Regions from separate parts of the Homo sapiens genome. Here all the other regions are linked to region 1. The links are contacts of gene promoters, found by promoter capture Hi-C in blood cells and fetal thymus (Javierre and others, 2016). All regions are on one chromosome and are shown on one strand. The core of a region is centred on a gene start or on the middle of the fragment in contact, and the rest is flanking DNA. Distances in the headings are between cores, read along the strand shown.

Evidence for each region. The method cuts DNA at HindIII sites, captures the fragments that hold promoters and counts their contacts. A CHiCAGO score of 5 or more calls a contact.
Region 2: a contact is called between a fragment that was not itself captured here and the fragment with the promoter of KIF20B in region 1, in 1 of 17 cell types (neutrophils). The highest score is 7.0, in neutrophils.
Region 3: a contact is called between a fragment that was not itself captured here and the fragment with the promoter of KIF20B in region 1, in 1 of 17 cell types (neutrophils). The highest score is 5.8, in neutrophils.

Annotation. Positions count from the first base shown.
Region 1 is chr10:89,699,386-89,703,364 of GRCh38, forward strand. KIF20B (kinesin family member 20B) reads left to right here and starts at 2,205. Exons shown (of 33, transcript NM_001284259.2): 1 at 2,205-2,295. RefSeq lists a silencer at 1,727-1,806 and enhancers at 1,851-2,366, 2,367-2,883. The HindIII fragment of the contact is 4,302 bases long and covers 1,708-3,979 here.
Region 2 is chr10:89,002,914-89,007,277 of GRCh38, forward strand. FAS (Fas cell surface death receptor) reads left to right here. Exons shown (of 9, transcript NM_000043.6): 2 at 116-281. Among named protein-coding and RNA genes, the nearest start is that of FAS-AS1, 12 kb to the left of the region's middle. The HindIII fragment of the contact is 4,885 bases long and covers 580-4,364 here.
Region 3 is chr10:88,829,505-88,833,756 of GRCh38, forward strand. ANKRD22 (ankyrin repeat domain 22) reads right to left here. Exons shown (of 6, transcript NM_144590.3): 2 at 2,331-2,522. Among named protein-coding and RNA genes, the nearest start is that of ANKRD22, 20 kb to the right of the region's middle. The HindIII fragment of the contact is 5,846 bases long and covers 1-4,252 here.

The DNA.
Region 1 (3,979 bases), core at 955-3,454:
ATTCATTTCAAGGGCACAGATGGAATTCTTTGGAATGGGTACTAAATCTTAAGCACTTCCCAATCAAGCTGGCTCTGCATCTCCCTAAGGGAAAAACCCAGCAGCTGGTGCTGAAATGAAAAACGTCGGAAAAAGTACCTTTAAAATCTGGATACTTTTCTGCAACTCCTCTGCCATCTTCCAAGTCCACATTATCATTATCTTTTCCTGGGATCTCTTGCAACAGCCTCCTAACTGGTTCAACAGCATCCTCCCTGGCTGCCTCTAGTTTCTCCAGGAGATTAACCTTTTCAAAAGATAGATGCACATTGGATTGCACCATGCCCATGCTTAAAACTGGTTATCCAGTAAGCATTTCGTAATACTCAAGTCAGTAACTTGGCTAAGGCTTACAGGGTCTGGCCTTGGCCCATGCCTACAGATTCACTCCCCTGACTCCTCCCCATGGTCTCTACCCAGCCACATCAGCTTTCATTCATTGTTCAACAAATATTGATTTGCTTGTCTTGTGTTAGAGAGTCATTGAGGATACATTAGCGACCAAACAAAACACAGTTATTCTACTCACAGAACTTAGATTTTACAGGGTGGGGGAACAACAACAATTGCTAGTTGTAAAAAGTATAAAAATGAAATTGAACCTGCAAATAAAAAAAGAGTGCTCACTTGAGATACAGTAGCCAGGAAAGTCTTCTTTAAGAAGGTACTATTTTAGACGTAACCTAAATGATGAAGGGAAGTGCCACGTGTTGAATGGAGAAGAGAGAATTTAGGTACAGGGAACAACCCATGCAAAGGTTCATACATGCTGGAAAGAAGTTGGTGTTTGAGGTATCCAGAGCAGATCAACTTACTGTACAGTTAGTGGGGAGTGAGGTCGGCTGACACTTGATTGTGCAGGACCTGGGAGGCCATGGTAAAGATCAGAATTCTATTCCTTTTCCCCCCTCCTCTTTTTATTTTATAAAATCTGTTATTTTAGAAAGTTGCAAGACTGGTACGATGTACACCATTATACCCTTCAACTAGATTCACCAATTACTAATATTTTGCCACATTTGCTTTCTCTATTTTTTTGCCATATCTTTTGAAGGTAAGCCGCAAACACTGTGACACTTTGCTGCTAATTACTTTAGCAAGCGCCTTCCAAAAACAAAGGCATTCTTCCACTTAATCACAAATTAATTCTCACATGCAATCAATTTAAAACTGATTCAATATCATCTAATATGTAGTTCATATTTAAATTTCCCCAGTTGTCCACAAATGTCTTTCGAAGTTTTTTTTTTTTTTTAAAAACTATGAACCAGCCAAGATTCACAAATTTCATTTGGTTTCTTTTGACTCTCGACTAAAGTAATTTTCCACTTCGTTTTTTTCTTTTTCCTGTCATGACACTGACATTTTTGAAGAGCCTAGGCCTGTTGTCTTGTAGAATATTCTACATTGTTTTTTTCTGATTGTTTCCTCATGATTAATGTCAAACATTTCTAGCACAAATACTATCGGGTGATATTAGCGATGCTAAGTATCTTCACTTGGTTAAGGTATGTCTAATAAATCTCTTCAGTGTAAAATTCTATTTTCCCTTTATAATAAGAAATGATCTGTAGGGTGATTCTTTGAGATACTAACATCCTCTTCCCTACAACCTTTCAGTTAATTGTTTGTTTTAGCATCTTGCATTCATTAGTTTTAGCATTCATAAGCTTACCTATATCAATTTTTAGACTGGCAGTTGCACAATGGGGATGCAGCGAGGGAAGTGACCCTCCGGATCCCGGGATGCCGAGCCTTTTTCTGCCCCGTAGGGACAGGACTGGGAAGTGGCTAGCCCGCCATTCCTCGGCCCGTCCTTAGGGGAGTCGCAGGACTAAGTGCAGTGGCAGTGGCCTCACCTCGGGCCTTCGCCACATCTTTATTGCCTCAAGGACAGAATTGGAGATCGGTGTCCCAGTCAACAGCGTGGTACTTATGACAGCCGCGAGAAAGCGCACTACTAAAGCCCGGCTAGCAGAGCTGGGAGGCAAACCAGACCGTCAGCACCAGGGCGGCCCACGCCTGCTTCCGCCCATTGGCTGCCCGCGTTTCAAGACCCGCCCCCATATTGGAGAGCTTCTTCCGGTAGCCACTGGAAAGCCCGCAGCGCGAGCCGGCTACGCTCCCTGGCGGAGCTCTGGACGCCCCACCTACTCCCAGCGTTCAGTGCGGTGCCCTGGCCGCCATTGTTTGAATTTGAAAACGGTAACATCGCAGTGCTGCTCGCGGGTCTGGCTAGTCAGGCGAAGTTTGCAGGTGAGGAGGTGACCCGCGGGAATGTGTGGGGAAGGAGGTGGGTGACTGCGCATGTATGGGGCCTAAGGTGGGGAAACGGCTTTGGCAATGTGGACATGTTCCGACAGGGCTCATACCCCAGTGGAGGTTACTGTCAGGAACTGGGTTGCGGAGCGATGCGAACACGGGGTACGCAGCGAGGAATGAGTCATACTAATTCGGTTACGGTTTAAATCTCGCCTCCACTGCTAATTAGCTGAGTGACGCAAGACAATTCATTTAATCTCTCTCTGTACCTTAGTTTTCTTATCAGTTAAAAGGCTGCAATGAAGTGTCTATTTCTTTCGGCTTTTGTGAAGATTAAATGGTAATGTGTAAAGTTATTAGTGCTGGCACACAGTAGGTACTAAATGTTTGCAGTTATTAATATTATTATTGTTGTTGCTTCTGTTGTTGTTGAGGAACAGGCCTGTTTTGCCACACCTAGTTTTCTGAAGCTCTGAGGTGAGCAGTTTGCTCGGCTGGTAGGTAACACGGCCTTTTTGCGGGGGGAGCCCTGTGGTAGCCTCTGTGCACTTATTTCCAGACTACTCCTACTGGTCCTTGGGGCTTGCCCTTCTAGGGTTTTGCAGTGCCAGGCTGAAGAGTTTGTGGCACAGTGACTGCTGTCATTCCCCAGTTTAGAAGGCTTTCTCCATCTCGATTCGCTCGCTGGTTCAGTGATGCATGTCTGGCACAGTTCTCTTATATTTCTTGCTAAACTACTAGTTTACAGAAGTTCACGCCTTATGGGTTAGGTAGTGTAACAGTGTATTTATCTTACATGTCCAAGACTCCAGATTTTAAATTGTAAAAATAACATAAAATACTCATCGATTAGTTGTGAAGACTTTTTTTGAGGCTTTGTGTTGTAGACCACATTCAGAAACCTCATTCAGCAACAGATTCTGCTATTTTTCACCAAAGTCTCCAATTGTGGATTCTTATTGGAGAGAGGGTAAATATGCAGTTTTCCAGTCAGAGCAGCCTTTTGAAATGAAAAATGAGGTCTTGGAGCCTGCTGTCACGAAAGATAATATTACAGACTAGGACCGACTTTTTTTTTTTTTTTTGGAATAGTATTTTCTTTATAACCATTATTTTAAGTCATTAGGTAGTCTTTATCCCTGCATAAGTCGCTGAATTTGTTATAGGGGATACAGAGTGGTATAAGGCAAGGTTCTTGCCATCAAGAAGTTTCCAGTTTAGTTGGGAAGGCCACGTATAAGTAGAAGTCATCTAAAATCGCAAGAAGTTACAGTAAGTCTGAACACTTTTAGAAATGCTAGGAAGTAGTTTGTTCATTGAAAAATGAGCATATGAACAAATACTTTATTATAACTGCTTTTAGTACATAGGAATATTCTTTTTAATTCAGCAATTTAAAAGATTTATCAACACTTTTCTTTAAACCAAAAATTATTATTTGAAGCCACAGGTGTTTTTTAGTTTTCTGGGCATTTCCATGAACTCTGTGTTATGAAATGTCAGGCCGGTACTTTAACGTTTTGCAGATGCTCCCCCCTCTGCACCCCCTTACCCATGATCTAGATCAGTGCTTTCCTTAGTCTTTTTGCAATTTAGGGGAAAAAAGTCAACTATGTTCTTGTGATACGTTTAGGAATTTCAGCCTGATCAAGGAAAAAGATTGACAACAAGATGGCAG
Region 2 (4,364 bases), core at 1,772-4,271, 700 kb before region 1:
ACATTGTCTTTGCCTGTGCACAGCAGATACTGCCAATTTTGGGTGGGTTACACTTGTTTACCACGTTGCTTACTTCAGAAATCAATAAAATTCTCTTCATGCTTTTATTTTACAGGTTCTTACGTCTGTTGCTAGATTATCGTCCAAAAGTGTTAATGCCCAAGTGACTGACATCAACTCCAAGGGATTGGAATTGAGGAAGACTGTTACTACAGTTGAGACTCAGAACTTGGAAGGCCTGCATCATGATGGCCAATTCTGCCATAAGCCCTGTCCTCCAGGTATGTTACACAAAACATCCAGAGATTACAGTGAAAGTCACAGTTAGGAGTAGCACATAGTAATCATGACTATAATAATTTTACAGTTTTTGGTTCCCCTATATTATATAACATAACTGAGAGAAAAACAACTATGAAATTATTTTCCAAAGATGAGTTTTATTTATATTTATCACGCTTATTTGATGTGGTTATGGATAAATTTAATTTACAAGTGACATGCACCTCTGAAATGAGAAGACTGGTCTATTTGGCTCCATTTTTTTCTAAGCAAAAATGACTCATTTGTGAATATGAAAGCTTATCATGTCAAAACTGATTAGGATCTACCATAACAATAGTGGAACTCTGAAAGCAAGAGACTTCTCCTCTTAAGGGATATGTCTCAGCACTTCCCTTCAATCAGAAGGTCTCTAAGAAAGCTGTCCTGGCACTGAAGCCTGCAAAATATATTTGCATTTTGCAGCTGAATAACTAGACGAATAAGAAAAGCAACAGGCAGAAACCAACAGCTTTTTTTTTTAAATCAATACTTTGAAGGGCAAACTAATTTCAGATCACAAATCCTTCAAACACTGGTAAATTAGAAGCTAAGCAAAATGCAATTGTGCAAACATTTCTTCAACTTTGAGTAGAGTTGAAAAAAGGAAAATAGCACATGGGTTCATGTGATAGATTAATAGAACAAAAAAGGACTGTAGTATGTTTCATGGTTGTCCTCCCAGGCTTCCAGCACTCAAGCTGTAAAACAGGATGGGTCCTGTTTGTGAAAAGATTCTACCAGTCTCCCTGTGCTTCATGTCCAGATTTTAATAACCGTTATGGAAAAATCTCCCCTATAACCCAACCCATTTATACTTAAACCCATTTACACTTAAATCTTCTCCAACACGAATAAAGAATGGCGTCCTGGCTTTATTATAACCTGCTAAACACAATCAATTTGCTCTATGAATTGAAATCTTTGTTCATAATTTTAAAACCTAAAATGTAAATTAAAATGAACAAAATATGCTTTGCACATCAAACTGTCAAGGATTTTTGTCTATTGCTTTTTCGGTTTTGCTTTGTTTTATTTTAATTTAAGAAGTGAATGTAAATTGTTACAAACTTTTAAGAAATACATTTGGATATATGAGTCAAAAATTTGAAAAAAAATTTTTTTTAACTTTTTTTTCTTATTATTATACTTTAAGTTTTAGGGTACACATGCACAATCTGCAGGTTAGTTACATATGTATACATGTGCCATGCTGGTGCACTGCACCCACTAACTCGTCATCTAGCATTAGGTATATCTCCCAATGCTATCCCTCCCCCCTCCCCCCAACCCACTGTTTATACTTGCTAAGATAGCAATTAATTTATACGAAAATACCCTGAGAAAATAATCAAAAATAAAGGAAAATATTGTACACATGATATTTCATTATCAATATGATGTAGGATTCCTTAGGTAAATTCTGGAATATTTAAAGACTGAAATAGTATGTATCAAAGTCATGTTTTCTGATATATTTCTAATATAATCCTCAATTATATAAACCTTCTTAAGTAATTTCCAACTGATCTGGCTGGATTAACTGATTCTCCCTGATCCGTCTATAAAATATCCTGGATGGCATCCAACCATGTTAAATACTCTTCCCACTTCAATTCCCTCTTGTTGAATTTTAGGCTTATCAATATCTAAGTTGCTTCCAAATCTGTTTATGCTCATTAGTGTTGTGATATTCATATGTAATTTGATTGAATATTGCATAAATTAATGAAATACAAATACAGAGAAAAGACAGATTTTATTTCTAAGAAAACTAGGTTGAGTGCTTTGGAGAATTCAATAAAGATGAGCTGCTAAAATGTTGTTGATGAATTTTGTGAGGGAAAAATAAAAGTTAAGTAGTAGGAAAAATCACAAAAATCTCTAAAGCCATTCATAGAGATTATTGGTATGTTTATGTTTTCCTTTCATCAAAAACGAAGGGAGGGAGGGAGGGAGGGAGGGAGGAGAAAAAAAGAAAGAAATGAAAAAGGAAGAGAAAAATAGACAAACAGGAAATTATAGGTGATGCATTATGGATGTGACTTAAGAAAGAACCTGGGATTATAATAACTTCTATATCACAAAATTGTCAAATGATTATATAGTTATATTTTATAAATTAAAACAAAATATTTACAGTATTTTTAAGTGATTTCCTATGTAAATTGACATTTTTGATTAAATGATCAAAGAAGTCCTCCCCACATCATCATATTCAATAAGAAGGATTCTATGGTATACTGCACACATATTTCATATATACACATTGTACATATATATATATACACACCTGTTATATATATGCTCATGCATATACATGTATGTATGTATTATATGCATAGGAATGCAACAAAATAACGGCAATATCTCCAGATTGTTGATATATAGTTTTTTGTTTGTTTGTTTGTCTGTTTTTTTGAGATGGAGTCTCACTCTGTAGTCCAGGCTGAAGTGCAGTGGCATGATCTCAGCTCACTGCAACCTCTGCCTTCTGGGTTCAAGCAATTCTGCAGCCTCAGCCTCCCAAGTAGCTGGGACTACAGGAGCACACCACAACACCGGGATAATTTTTTGTGTTTTTAATAGAGGCGGGGTTTCACCATGTTGGTCAGTCTGGTCTCAAACTCCTGACCTCAGGTGATCTGCCTGCCTTGGCCTCCCAATCTGCTGGGATTACAGACATGACCCACTGTGCCCGGCCTGATACATAAGTTCTTATTATACTTTCCTGCCTTTTCCAACATTTCTATAATAAGCATATGTACCATTATACTAAAAAAAGTATTTTAAAATCTGATTTTCAATAAAACAACTACTTATTTTCTTATTTTAATAAATTTTGTTTTCATACTTTGGAGGAACGAAAGAACCTGTGGTTTACTGTATCTCCATTATACCAAGGAAGTTGTGCTAGGCACATTCTGTAAGATAATTCATTAAAGAGACCAATTCATTCAGAGACCAGTATAATACCACTAGCAAAAAATAAAATTATACTTGGACTTGGGTTCTGTTTTCTTTAAATATTGCTACAATGTTATATAGCCCTATGCACTATTTTTGAATTTTGTTCTGGGAATCTCCAGTTTGTTTTTTACTATTGACAGACTATTATCTTTACTTACTAAAATAGCATATATATTTACATGTCATAATTTGCTCATGTAGTAAATATTTTGTTTTATCAAAAAGAATATATGAAGTTATTAAGGAATTCATGTTCCTAGGAAACACAGCAGAAATTAATTTTGCTGTATAGGTGAGCAGAGCAGATTAAACTGCTTATATTTTTAAAACTAGTTATACCATTAACAATTAGAGTCACTAGTAATGTTTTTCTCACACTTCCCTTGATATTTTCTGTCACTTTCTTCTTAATTCTCTATTCCCTTACCTTCATCTAGCTTTCCCCATAGCATTTTTTTAGCACTTGATATCAATATATTTATTTGTGTATTGTCTGCCTGCATCCCAAGAAGGTGAAGTCTTTGGTGATGAAGGGTTTATCTTATTTCCTGCATAATATCAAACTTCTAAAAAGTTCCTAGGACTCAATAGGCATTTAATAAACACCTATCAGATAAATGAATTTTTTAAGAGAACACATTACATAATGCTTTCTAATAGCAATACAGTGACAAACTTTATTTTTAAGTAAATTAATGCAAATATGTATATTATTTAAAATTGTTTGTTTTTAAGATAACAAGCCTGATAGATAATAAATTTTGGCATAAATATGTTAATGCTTATCAAAACTCATCAGTACATATCCTGTCTTTTGATGAAAAAGTAATAGAAAGGGGAGAACAAAGAGAACTCTCATGCTCACTAGGCAGGCCGAGTGCAGCTCTGACAGCAATGCAAGAGAAATATTACTATCTCCATCATATGCAGGATGAAATTTAGGCTTGGAGAAAACAACACTTCGTTAAAGATTTTATAGCTGCTCAAGATTTGACCAAGGCTTTTAAAACTTCAAATGTTCTTTTCCTTATTACACTGTTTCTTATCAGGATTTGTGGACTTTGGAAAGTAAA
Region 3 (4,252 bases), core at 130-2,629, 870 kb before region 1:
CTGTTGACATTTTGTTGTATTTTCTTCCAGTCTTCTTAAATGCATAAATGTGGAATTTTGAAATGTAGAATGATATTGCATATGCAATATCATATCTTGCTTTTTTCAGTTCAGAAACGTATATTTAGAATATGTACATTTTTCCATGCAATTCAATATTTTTAAACATATGATTGTAATGGCTGCATGGCTTAGTATTGAGTGGAACTACTCTGATGTATTTAGCTAAGCCCTGCCTTTTGAACATTTCATGGTTTTTGAGGGTTTTGTTTTTGTTTTTGTTTTTCTGTGAGACAGGATCTTGCTTTGCCACCTAGGCGGGAGTGCAGTGGCACAATCCTAGCTCACTGCAGCCTTGACTTCCTGGTCTCAAGCGATCCTTCAACTTCAGCCTCCAAAGTAGCTGGGACTACAAACATGTGCCACCACACCTGGATAATTTTTTACTTATTATTATTTTGTGTAGAGATGCGGGGGTCTTGCTATGTTGCCTAGGCAGGTCTTGAACTCCTGGTCTCAAACTATCCTTCCACCTTGGCCTCCCAAAATGCTGGGATTCCAGACATGAGCCACTGCACATGGCCCGTTTCAAGTTTTAAACTTTTCATTTTTATAAATAATATTGCCTGAACCTGCTCATTCATAAATTTTTGTCAACATTTCCAAATTTGTCCTTTGCCTACATTTCTAAAAATAGAATTCCTGGCATAAAAAGTATTAATGCTTTTCATATTGCGCTATCAAATTGTGTTCTAATAAGACAATAATAACTTAAACTTTCTGATCAACATTTGTTTTCTTTTTTAATCTTGGTCAGTTTGACAGACAAAAACAAGGATCTTTATGTTTTAATTTAATTTGCTATCAATAGAATCCATAGGCTTGTGCTTCTGAATCTCCAGCAGAGCTTTTTGTTTGTTTGTTTGTTTTTAAGGTGTTTGTTTGTTTAGTGTTTCTGGAAATAATTTATAAACAGATTTCAGACATGAGAAATCACAGGTTCAAATTATTAATGTACAAATATTAATATTTGGAGAAAATAAAAATATTAAATGCTAACATTAGAAACATTTGAAAGTGGAAAATGCAAACCAAAAACTTCTACTGATAAAATCTATTAATCTAATGTATCCACTAAAGTCTTTTTCATGGTTTTTATGATACCAGAAAATCCCAGCAGGCTGGCTGAGGCCCTCCTCTTCTGCAAAGCGGAGATAAAAGTGTCTCCTCAGCCTTGCCCATGGGCTAACGTCTCCTCCCTCAGTTTCCTAACGAGCGCACCTCTTAAAAGAGCGCAGGAACCCACAGACATCTGTCTTCTGGCACTACCACTCACTGCAACTCCACATATCTGGTTTCACAGCAGTGATCTACAGAGATCCTATTATAGTCCACGATGTTGCATATCTGTTCCATTCAGCACAGGCATGACTTGCTTTTAATCGCAACCAAACCAAAAATAGTAAGCATAAATAAAAAAGTCCAGTAATGATCAATTTTCTGATAATACATTGTTACTCCTGATGAGCTAGTCTCCAAATGACTTAGAAGGGGCAAGGGGGGATTTCCAGTGTTTTCTCGCCTTGAATGCATATAAGTGGGTACAGGACAGTCATAATGATTGCAAAAAAATGGCTTAATATTTATTCAGTGTAATTTAAATATTGCCTTCACTACGATGCAAATGCTAGATGTTCAGAAAGGGCTCCACAAGGATTTTCACAGCAATACACACATATTCTTCTCTTTCTTGGTCCTGAAGGCTCCAAAGTAGCTAATATTGCATCTTTAAATATATTCTTTACACCTTTTTGTGTGACTTCAAGTAACCTCTGGCTCATGAGCTTATTTGTCCTTGGTAAATTTCTCAATAGTACTCTTTCATTCTACAAGAACACTATAGGATCCTCTGGAGATCAGGACATTAATATAGCAGGTAAAAATCTAACTAATGAAACAGCATTTCTTTTCCAAGAAATCTTTGCCATTGCTTCTGTGTTAGTAATGAGAAAGAGGGGAGAGGAAGAAAGAGGAGGATGAAGAGAGGAAGAAGGAAAAGAAAGAAGCTCTATCCAGCCAAATAAGTGAACCAGAGGTAAAAAGACATAATTTATCACAAATTATGCCTGCTGATTGAACTATGTTTTATTTTGCTGTTTAGCCTAATAAAATGTCCTTGGTATGTGTCAGTCTTTCTAAAGTAGGCTAAGATAATTGTTCGTATTAGGAGCTGCAAGCAATTTAAAAAATGACATGCACCACTTCTAGTGATTCAAAGAGAAAAGAATTATCATGAACAATTACACTCTCCATTCATGTCATGACCTCACCTGGTTTTTGAGGTTGACATTAGCATTTCTTCTTAAAAGGAAGGAAACGATTCTCACATGCCCTCGCCTGCAAGCACAGATCAGGGGCGTGTCTCCATTAAAGCCATCTTGAACGTTGGCATAGCTGCTGTCTTCTTTCACCCACCGCCACACTTGTCCAAAGTCATTCTGATAGGCTGCTTGGCAGATGGGCTGGGTCGGGAAAAACAAAAGCAGGTTTTGAAATACTGGCATAATTAAACCACAAAAACGAAAAAAAAGTCATAACCCAATACATTAAAATTTAAATGTTTTAAAATTGTAATATATTGCTTTGCAGGTGAGATTTTTTGGTCTCAGTTATGCCTAGCTTTAAGTCTAGATCAAGAATTAGCCCATGAGGAACCTCCTACATTTTCCTAAGTTTTCTTGGCACACACTTATGTCCATCAAATGGATGAATAAATAAATGAAATACTACAAATTCAACTCAGTAAGGAAACTATGTATAGTGCTTACAGGTAGGTGGGCCTGTCGGAAAAGCATTCATTTTCTTTACTAAAGATAAAATACCTTTATCTTTATCTTTACTAAAGACAAAATACCTTTATCTTTATCTTTACTAAAGACAAAATACCTTTATCTTTATCTTTACTAAAGATAAAATATCTTTATCTTTAGTAAAGACAAAATGTCTTTATCTTTATCTTTACTAAAGATAAAATGTCTTTATCTTTATCTTTACTAAAGATAAAATAGAAAACAAGCATATGGGGAGGAGTTTAGGGCAGTACTAGTGATGAAATAAGACCTACATAGCACCCTGTATTCAAGGAGCTCAACAGAGCAGAAAAGACAGTTTTTTAGGCAAATAATATACAAATTATATGGTTAACTACACTTGATTAGATGCTGTTTATAAAAAGCATTATACAGAGCTTCACAAGGCACCATGGGAGTTTAATAGCAAGACTTCAGGTAGCATGATCTTGTCCTCTTTCCCTCCTCTGCTCCAGCCTTTCTCGACTTCTGTTCTTCAAAGTTTGGTTGAACCAAACCATGTTTGGTACCTTCCATCTGGGCTTCTGCCCTGAATACTCTCTCTGCATAAAACACACCACCTGCCTTTCTTCTGAATAACACCTAGCTCACCCTTCATGTCATAATTTAATTTTCATTTTATCCAAGAAGTCTTTTCTTACTCCCAACATTCAGTATCTCTCCCTCACAGCAACTGACATACTGTAATTCTTTTCTTAATTATGTACAATCATGTATTTAGGGCTAGCATGAATCAGGAGAGGTTTGAGGCAGTGCTGAGAAGGAAGGCACTGAAGTTCAGGCCGTAAACCCCATTTTATTTACTGCTATTTCTCCAGCATTCAACACAGCACTCAGCACATGGGAGGCAAACACTGAATATTTTTAGACTAATCTTCAGATGATGTCTTTTAAAAAGCATTTAGAGTAATACCTGGCATATGGATGGTGCTTAGTGTATGAAAGTTATCATTATTGCAATTGTCATTCTTTAATAATCAAGTCAAATCCCTGCTGTGTGCCAGTCACAGGTACCAGAGAATAAAATATGTTATCTTATCCATGTAAAATGTATCTGTCAAGTGGGGAAATAGGACAGAGACACACATACACAGAGTAAATGACAAGAAAAAAATTTTTTGGTATGGGTAGGTACATAAGCACCTGTGGAAACTGGGACGTATCAAGGGGAAAGTCAAGTGGGTGTATTTGCTAATAAACTGAGGTTCTAACATAGCCAAATATCACAATAAGTGAACTATGTTATACTCTTAAACCTAAAGGCCTACTCATGAAAGAAACATCCTAACAGAAAATTAACTCAGCAGCAATTAAAGGCAAACTTCTGTACCTTAAAAATGAAATGAACATGATACATGGGCTTTAAGTTTCACTAGAAATGC